Regions from separate parts of the Homo sapiens genome. Here region 1 is linked to region 2. The links are contacts of gene promoters, found by promoter capture Hi-C in blood cells and fetal thymus (Javierre and others, 2016). All regions are on one chromosome and are shown on one strand. Each heading gives the region's core, a stretch centred on a gene start or on the middle of the fragment in contact. The rest is flanking DNA. Distances are from core to core; before and after follow the strand shown. Region 1 has its middle 110 kb from the start of ANK1. Region 2 holds the start of PLAT (plasminogen activator, tissue type).

What was found. Contacts are between HindIII fragments. The CHiCAGO score rates a contact against its expected background, and 5 or more counts as called.
Region 1: a fragment that was not itself captured here is called in contact with the fragment with the promoter of PLAT in region 2 in 1 of 17 cell types (neutrophils); the score reaches 5.0 in neutrophils.

What each region holds. Positions count from the first base shown.
Region 1 is chr8:41,901,180-41,906,197 of GRCh38, forward strand. No RefSeq gene overlaps it. Among named protein-coding and RNA genes, the nearest start is that of ANK1, 110 kb to the left of the region's middle. RefSeq lists a silencer at 550-736. The HindIII fragment of the contact is 4,420 bases long and covers 843-5,018 here.
Region 2 is chr8:42,203,957-42,208,873 of GRCh38, forward strand. It overlaps PLAT (plasminogen activator, tissue type), which reads right to left and starts at 3,609. Exons shown (of 14, transcript NM_000930.5): 1 at 3,538-3,609. RefSeq lists enhancers at 4,110-4,628, 4,629-4,917. The HindIII fragment of the contact is 29,641 bases long and covers 1-4,917 here.

The DNA of each region.
Region 1 (5,018 bases), core at 1,803-4,302, 300 kb before region 2:
AACTGTGAGCCAAATAAACATTTTTTCTTTATAAATGACCCAGCCTCAGGTATTCCTTTATAGCAACATGAACAGACCAAGACAGGCCGTCTGTGTTTAAGTGACTTCCCCCAGGTCACATTCTGATGGAGCGGAGTCAGAATTCAGGCCCAAGCTGCCTAATGCAAGGCCTGACCTAAAAGGAACCATCAGGTGACCGATTTTGACAGTGACTCAGCCAGTTCTCCTGAGTGTAGAAGTATTAGTAACCTGAGTTAGACACATAAAATAATATCCCCAGGCAGGCAACCAAAGGGCCAACCTATTCCTCCAAAGTGATAGAAACAGAACCCACAGTGACCCACACACAGCATCAAGAGACAAGACAAAAGACTGCCCCACTGTGGTCCCCAGAGAGCCACCTCCTCTACTGCAGCCACACCCCTCACTGAGGTGTCCCTGCTGGGTTCCCACCATTCATTCTCAGGCTCTTCTCGTCATTTCTTGGGAGCCACATAATCCGGCACACACCCACAAAGGGGGTCACTACCCCATGGGTGAGGACAGTTGGTCACTCAGCATGCAGGGAAGTGGTGTGGGGAGTGAGTCCGAACTCTAGCACAGGAGACAGCCCCAGTTCTTCATTTTTTTATATAGGGATGCTTATTACTCAAGGAAATTCTGTATTTCAGTGGGGCCTTTTTATTTAGCTGCTAAGTGAAGGGGAATGGAGTCCATTTTTATATCTTTGCTGCTTTCTTCCCTAAGATTTCCATCTGGTTCCCAGTCCCATCCTGAGTGTATGCATTTATGCAACTAGACCAACTTGTGTTTTTAAAAGAAACATTATTAATAATTAATAAAGCTTCCCAAGATAAAAGCTGCCTCTTGAACTAAATAATATAAATAGCTAAAACATAATGAGAGCACTGGGCATTCTTCTAAGCGTATTTAACCCTAAGAACAACTCCATGAGGCAGATGCCATTGTCATCACCATTTTACAGTTAAGAAACTGAGGCACAGAGAGAATGAATAACTTGATCAAGATCAATGGCTACTAAGCCATGGACCTCAGATTTGAAACAAAACAGTCAATCTTTAGAGACTGTACTTTTACTGCTACTTAGGACAAACATCCTAAATTGAGCGTGGGCCTGGAAGGTTCTGTCCATGTACCATTAATCCCTTTTAGGAAAGAAGGAGCCAACCAGTGTCTACCAGTCCTGACTCCTCTGAGGGCAGATGGCTGTGGGGTCTCAGCCATCCAGTCCAGTGCCATACCCTATAGGTGTTCAGGTCAAGTTTGATTCAGAAGAGGTTATCCAGGAGCCACGAATATAGAGGATAAAACAGAAAGACAAATGGAAAATTAGAATTGCAGAGTGAGAAGGAACTGCCTGGCATTTCCCAACCAATGGGAGGCTTCTTCTGCTCACTCTCACATTCCCAGACCAGATCACTCCGCAGGAGAGCTGCTGTCCGTTTCCCACTGGGTTCAAGCCGTCTCCCCGGGTGTGTGCACACCAGCCCTGCTCTGCCATCCAGCGCTACTACACTGAAATTATTCAAGCCCTGCTTCTGTGTGATAGCCCTTCAAATATTTGAGGAGAGCTTTCACTCCTCCCTATGCTTGACCAAGATAATGTCAGGAGTTCATAGTAAAGGTGAATATTGAGCTCACAGATTCCTAATTTCCTGTCCAAGGTTTACCGATGACAGCAATCTGTCCTTTTCATAATTGCATTTTCCAGGGTGGAATTTGAAGAGATAAAAGAGCCTATAAGTCAAGGTGTTCAGAGAAAACAGCAAAGCAGGAAGAGGATTTACATCCAGATTCGTAGAAAATGCTGGAGTAAGGCTGGGCGTGGTGGCTCCTGCCTCTAATCCCAGCATTTTGAGAGGCCGAGGCGGGTGGATCACCTAAGGTCAGGAGTTTGAGACCAGCCTGACTAACATCGTGAAACCCCATCTCTACTAAAAAAATACAAAAATTAGCTGGGTGTGATGGTGCATGCCTGTAATCCCAGCTACTTGGGAGGCTGAGGCAGGAGAATCGCTTGAACCCAGGAGGCAGAGGTTGCGATGATCCAAGATGGTACCACTGCGCTCCAGCCTGGGTGACAGACAGAGACTCTGTCTCAAAAAAAAAAAAAAAAAGAATGAGAGAGAAGGAAGGGAGAGGAGGGGAGGGGAGGGGAGAGGAGGGGAGGGGAGAGGAGGGGAGAGGAGGGGAGAGGAGGGGAGGGGAGGGGAGGGGAAGGGAGGGGAGGGGAGGGGAGGGGACGCTGACTTGAAAGTTCAGCGTTGGCTGGCTGGGTCCTCAGGCCTGCGTGTGGGTGAGGCCCCTACTGCTCCCTCCTCTGCACTCTCCCACCCAAGGTGGCCACCACCTCACTCCTCCGTGGTGACAGTGCCTTCCACTCCGGAGGGGAAATGGAAACCCTGGGCTGCATGTGCTCAGTGCCCTCCCTTCTGCACCATTGAAATGTGTCTGCATCCACCCCTTGTTGACGTCTTTGGACCCCACTCCTTCTCACCTCCTCAGAAAAACCGGGCTGCCAGAGAGCTCTGCTCTCACTGCGTCCCCATGGTGTGCCTGTCACCAGCTCCTCCAGCCTGTTACTTCCGGGTGCAGCCCTACTGCACTCCAAATTCTCTTGCCACCACGGAACCTACGGACGCACTTGGATCTGACTCCCTGGACCTTTTGACCTGGTGGTGTATCTCCCCGGTTCCTGAGACCCCACTCTCCCTGCTCTCCTCCCAGCTCCTGAATGCTTTCTACAGGACTCACTAATAAAAACTTCTGCCTGGGCTCTTTTTCAGTTTATACCTTCTTCCTCTATGATCTTAGCCTTGGCTTCCACTACCACCCACATGCCTGGATCTATAACTCCAGCTTTGACCTCTCTCAGAAGACTGAGGCAAGAAGTCTGCCCAGTGTACCATCAGAAGTCACCTCCTGGCTCCTCAATCCCCAGTTAACCCAGGCAGAAACCTGGGCTTCCCAGAGAGCCCCCCTTCCTCTCCTTTACAGCCCCCAGTCTTCTTACTCACTAGATTTCAGAGGCTTTCTTCAAAACCAGTTCTCAAATTTGCACATGCACTCACATCACCTAAGGATCTTATGAAAATTCGGACTCTGATTCAACTGCTATGGATAGATTGCAGCCACGGCTCATGGTCCTCTCCCCTGCGTGTATACTATTTATTTATTTTAATTTAATTTAATTAATTTCTTTTTTAGATGGAGTCTTGCTCTGTTGCCCAGGCTGGAGTGCAGTGGCTCAATCTTTGCTCACTGCAACCTCTGCCTTCTGGGTTCAAGCGATTCTTCTGCCTCAGCCTCCCCAGTAGCTGGGATTACAGGTACCCACCATCACACTGGACTAATTTTTGTATTTTTAGTAGAGATGGAGTTTCACCATGTTGGCCAGGTTGGTCTTGAGCTCCTGACCTCAGGTGATCTGCCTGCCTCAGCTCCCAAAGTGCTGGGATTACATGCGTGAGCCACCATACCCAGCCCATGTATACAATTTACACACGTGCCTCTGTGAGCACCCCCAGCCCAAGCCCACATTTCCAGCTCCCCATGTGCTCTCTCTTACCTCCCCTGTCAGTGCCCCTCCAAAAAAGGCAACCTTTTTTGGTTTTGACCTTTAGCACACTGGCAACCAGCCCATCCTGATGCCATCCAGAGCCCACCAAGAGTCACCTCATTAGAACAAAAGATGCTCCGATCACCTAGGAACTCCCAAGGGATTAGGAGCTCTGTGTCAGGAACCAGGGTCAAAGGGCAAATATTAGAACAAAAGATTCTTCCAGCACCCCTTTCTACAGCAGTATTAGGAGCTGTATGTCAGAAACCAGAGCCAGATAACAATGTACATATTTCTTATTATTTCGCAGTGGTATTTTCCTAATCCCACTCCACCCATGAGCTCCTCCACATTCCCTTTCCATGCCAGTTTCCTTCCAGTCGCTTCTGAGGGACGTCCCTCCCCACCAGGGTGAGTCTGCAGGCCCGGCCTTACATAGAGCCATCATTGGTGCCTAAGTCCCATCTTCCAAGCCACGTGTCTGTGCTGCACATGGACACTGGCGTCCACCGGCTCACCTCAGACATCACTCCCCTCTCGCTCCACGGCCACTGCCCCTCCCCCGGGCCCTCCACTGTTGTCCCCTGGGCTTTGGCTGTCACCCACTGAAACCGTGCCCCAGAGCTTAGAAAAAAAAACCTAATGACTAATAGAAATGCTTGAGTTTTCAGGATAGCAGATAAGAAAAGACAACTTCCGGAAACACTGAAACTCCCTCTGCTTATGAGATTTTAAAACCGGCTGCAATTGGTTGGAACCAATATGGCCAACTAAGTCTGCACAGAGCCCGCCTGCTAATTGTCATAGCCTGAATTTCTACTGCATATGTCACACTAACTTCCCCAGAATTTGCACATGGGACCCATGAGGAGGCATGAAGAGACAACTGCACGGGTGCAAGAACTTTCCAGACCTCCTTTTTCAAAACTCCACCAATCACCTACTAATCCCAGAATCCACTCCTAAACCTTTTCTAATAAAATTCCTGCCTTAAAGCCAGCACAGGGAGACAGATGTGAGCTGGACTCCTGTCTCCTTGTTAGCCCACCAGCAATCAAAACTTTCTTTTCTCAAAAGCCCAGTGTCAGAGCACTGGCTTCTTGCACGTTGGGCTGAGAGTCTCCTTTGTTTGGTAACCCCATCAGCCAAACCCCCTGTCTCTGTGTGTCACTGTAGGGCGGCCGCCTCACCTCCTAAACCTCCCCACACACCTCACCCCTTGCTGTGGCAGCCTGTCAGGGAGTCGGGGGGAGGACAACGGAGATGTCTCCCAGGCGTGGAGGCTGGAAGTCAAGGTCAAGGTCACTCCTCACCACTGCAAGGGAGCATCTGTCCCAGGCCTCCCTGCTTGCTCCTCATGGCTCAGGTGCTCCTTGGCTTGGAGATGGAAGCCTGTGTCTTCTCCCTGCATCTCCCCATCAGATTCCCTTGATGCGTC
Region 2 (4,917 bases), core at 2,359-4,858:
CTTGTCTCTAAATTATATATATATATATATATATATACACACACACACACACACACACACACACACACACACATACAAACACATATTGCTAAGAGAATGTGCTGTCTTTTTATGTAAGTAGAAAACTGAGCCACTATCGGAAGACCATGTGGCTTGACTTAGGGTTGGAGCAGGGTGGATGAGCTTTAAATTTATTTCTAGCTCTAATTTTCTTTGAGTCTAAATCATCCTCACTCTTTTACCTGGTTTGATGTGAGACCCACCATATGGTTTTGTGAGCTGCTTGACTAGGACGAGGTTTATAGCCTGACACTATAGACAGACATTTTCTCCCGTATATACAAAAGAAATGGCCCCAAGAAGGAATGAGCAGAATGCACTGGTCCCTTATTGTCCGTCCCAACAATCTCATCAAAGCAGAAGCGAAAATCACTCAGAGAAAGTAAAAAATTTATTCTGAGACTGCAGGTGCATAATGCCAAATAATCAAAGAAAAACCTGTCTGGGCATGGTGGCTCACGCCTGTAATCCCAATACTTTGCGAGGCCAAGGCGGGCAGATCACTTGAGGTCAGGTGTTCAAGACCAGCCTGGCCAACATGGTGAAAACTTAGCTGGGTGTGGTGGCGGGCGCCTGTAATCCAAGCTATTTGGGAGGCTGAGGCAGGAAAATCGCTTGAACCTGGGAGGTGGAGGTTGCAGTGAGCCAAGATTGTGCCACTGCACCCCAGCCTGGTGAAAAAGCGAGACTCCATCTTAAAAAAAAAAAAAAAGAAAAGAAAAATTGGCCGGGCATGGTGGCTCATGCCTGTAATCCCAGCACTTTGGAGGAGGAGGGCAGATCACGAGGTCAGGAGTTCGAGACCAGCCTGATCAACATGGTGAAACCCTGTCTCTACTAAAAATATAAAAATTAGCCGGGCGTGGTGGCTTCAAGTGACACTACCAAGGTATGAAAGGAAAATAAATCTCAAGACCCCCAAATCACTAAGCCAAAGGGAAAAGCCAAGCTGGGAACTGCATGAGGCAAACCTGCCTCCCATTTTATTCCTACATAAGACGGCTACAAAGATAAAAGGCTACATACCTCTCTCACAATTTACCCACAAGGAAACTCCTTGTGGACTTCAAGATCTTTACCCTAAAACAGTTCTGCTGAACTTCACCTTGGCAATGCAAATGGGTACAGGACAAAGGACAGAACTCAAAGTCATCCCTCTGCTCACCTGAGACAAACGCATATCTGATTGCTTCCTCTGCCCTATTGTTTTTGTAAAAATGAAGATTCAGGCCAGGCATGTTGGCTCATGCCTGTAATCCCAGCACTTCGGGGGGCCGAGGTGGGTGGATCACCTGAGGTCACGAGTTCAAGACCAGTCTGGCCAACATGGTGAAACCCTGTCTCTACTAAAAATACAAAAATTAACCAGGTGTGGTGGCAGGCGCCTGTAATCCCAGTTACTCAGAAGGCTGAGGCAGGAGAATCACTTGAACCTGGGAGGTGGAGGTTGCAGTAGCCGGGATCATGCCATTGCACTCTAGCCTGGGCAAAAAGAGTGAAACTCCGTCTCAAAAAAAAAAGTAGATTCACTGAGCCAACTAAGGCATAAGTGACTCTTCCTCTGCCCCCCTCTCATATGTAAATTGTGTATTCAGTGAAAGGCTGACAAAGACTCAGAAGAATGAAGCCTTCTCTTATCTACCTATGACCTGGAAGCCCCTACTTCGAGTTGTCCTGCCTTTCCAGACCGAACCGGTGCACATCTTACATACATTGATTAATGTCTCATGTCTCCCTGAAATGTATGAAACCAAGCCATACCTTGGCCACCTTGGACATATGTCCTCAGGATCTCCAGAGGCCGTGTCACATGTGTGTTCTTAACATTGGCAAAATAAACTTTCTAAATTGACAGACCTGTCTCAGATACTTTTGGGTTCACAAAGGAGTGCCTGACTGTTTTTTGGAATCCTTTGAAATCTACTGGCCGCTGGCTCTGCTCAGCAACGTCAGGCCCTGGGGGAAATCAAAGCCTCAGTGAACTCAAAAACCAACAAAGGGGAACTGCTATTCCCAGCTATTCCCTGGCTGCCTGGACTGTCCCAGGCCTGTGATGAAGCAGGGGGAGCCGCAGACACTGGGAGAATCCGACGCGAGTCATTGTGAAATAAACCAAGCTGGTCTTGGGGAGTCGGGCAGAGAAGGAGCATTTTGGAGACAAGGGCAGCTTTCATTTGCTCCTGAGATTTTGATCTGGGGCTTTATCATTTGATCCAGAGCTTGGAGGCTTGCATCTTTGAGAACATTTTAGGTGGAATAAATGGGTGGGCAGGATGGAGCTATTCATATCTCAATACTCACAGTGTCCCTGCCAGTGCTGGAGTCCGACTCTGCCTGCACAGGAAGCACGCACCCAGCAGCTCATGCTGACCGTCATGGATTGAGTCTAGATCCCAGAATGAGCGTTCTTGCCACAGCAAGTACTGCTAGGAAGTCACCTTTGAGGGGACTCCACCTGACAATGGTATTTGCAAGACCCCTTCCCGGGACTGCAATGCACACGCATACACACACACACGACATTTTTTCTGTCATCAAGCAGCTACAGGAGACCACCATATTATTCCCAATTGGCCACCAAACACATCCTTGTTACCACACTTCTTTGAGCTTGAGTTGTCATTAGTTACCTGGGACCTCGGCGTGTTTTCGTCTTCCCTCCCTCCCTTCCTCTCTCCCTCCCTGTGAGGTTAAGAAAATAAAGATAATAACAGTGAAAATCTGGAGAACCCCACATGCTTCCTGCAGAGTGCTTTAGGAATAAAAGACATTAATGTCAGTTTTTTCCCCTGTAATTAAAATGTCCTTTAAGGAGGACTGCACACTTGACTGATGCACCCTGGGCAAAAAGCCAGAGGGCCAAACTGACCTGTGGAGACTTGTAGGGGTGGCACCTAGGGAGATCAGAGGCATTTCTCTATCCCACGGGGTAATGTGGGGTGTGAAAGCCACCTGCTTCTCTCTCCCAGCACCTAGCAAATAGTGCTCTGGAAGTAAGTCCCCCTCTGCCCCATCCACAGCCTCAGTTCCTTTCTGGGGGTTCATCGGGGGAGGGAGGAAACTAGGGGACCCAGCGGGCCCTCCCAGCTGTCACAGGCACGTGTCCCAAGGCAGCCGATTTTGCTTTTATTGCTTGCTCGTCTTGAGGTACTCCCATAGGCTATTTGGGGCTTTTCTGTATCGTTCTTTTCACTTTCCCCTTTACTCTGTCAGCAGAGGCTTCTCCAATGAATGCAACCTCCCTAGTCTCCCTTTCCCCGACTGCCTCTCCCCTCCAAAACACTCCAGCCTATCCCAATCACATGCAAATGCAAACAGACATCTCCCCTCTGGAGTGGATTCTAGCGGATCCTCTAGTTGCCTGAATTACAAAGTTGGTCCCTTGGTTAAAGCATTCCTTCACTGGCTCAGCTTGCTGGAAAGACTTTTAAGAGAAAGAAGAGGAGACAGACCCCAAGGTACAGAAACCCGACCTACCACGGCTTGCTCCTTCCCTTTCCTCGCAGAGGTTTTCTCTCCAGCCCTGGACTCCTGTAGGATCTCAGCTCTGAGCTCCCCACAGCTCCGGCCTCCTTTAAGTTTCCAGGCAGGGGGTGGGGTCGGTGGCCCCGGCTGGGCGGGTTTCTGTGTGGCGGGAGGATGCTCAGTGGACAGGGCCATGAGGGAGCTGAGGCAGGCCTGTTTTTATAAAGCAGGGGGAGGAAGTTCACGGTGGAAGCAGCACAGCCCATCCTGGCTTCGGGCCAGGCTGATTATTCACAGCCGTGATGTCATTGAATCGCAGGAATTTGGAAGTGGGATGGGACCTTAAGAATCATCTTCCTTTAGAGTCCTAGTGTCCCAGGCTTAAAAGGGACTTTCAGGACCCTGTGATGACAAGAAGTGTTTATAATTCTAAAGGCAGCAGGTTGGGGCTGGGAGTGGGGTGTCTTCTGGAATCTGTGGCTGTAGCTCTGGCCTCTCAGGACATGAGAGGTTAAAAGGACTGGAGGATGCACAAGGATTGGAACACTTTGTGTGGTGGCGGGAGCTCAGGGGGGTAGCCACTGAGAAGGCAGGACCAGCCTTGGGCTCACCTGCGGTAGGAGGTGCCCCCATGGGGGTTTGCTCCGGTAGGCATCTTTGGCCCTGTTCTGTAATTTTAGGGAGAATCTTTCTCTTCTTTGTAAAGTGCAGGGCTGCAGTAGGTGGCCTCCGGGGACTTTCCGGCTCCAGCATCCCCTTGAGTGGGCCCAGGGAATATACACAGGGCCTTGGGGCCAACATGCCTGAAATTCGATCAAAGCCATCAGCCCTTAAGCCCACCGAAGCCTTTCAGTATTTGCTTGTAAAATGCCCCTGGAAATAGACAAGCCATTTCCCTTGCTGACACCTTTTCAGATGACTGAGAAATAAAAGCCCTGTCGTGTAGGGGAAAGTCTTAGGTTTAAATCCGGCTGTGCCAGTAACTGGGATATGACCTCAATCAAGATTTTCAACTATGCTGAGCTCTGGCTTTTGCATCTGCAGGTCACGTGAGGATCAGAGAGAAGCCACGCATGTCAGGGCCCTGGCACATCACAGGGCTCAGCAGGAGCATCTATCATCATTGGTTCATGTCTGGCTGAGACCAGACCTTGTAAAAATGAGAGAGAGGTGAAAGAAAGAACGCAGGGAGGGAAGAGAAGTTTGGCAGAGGAAATTGTGGGATGACCGACTATTCAGGAGAGGCCAGATTTCATACATTCTGATCCTAAATATACTCATATTTGTCAAACCATGAGTGCTGAGTTTGAAGTTGAAAGGCACCTAACTGCTTTTCACATTGCTTTCAAACTGTTTTTCACATTTTTATGAAGCTGCAGCCCTGCTGATGGT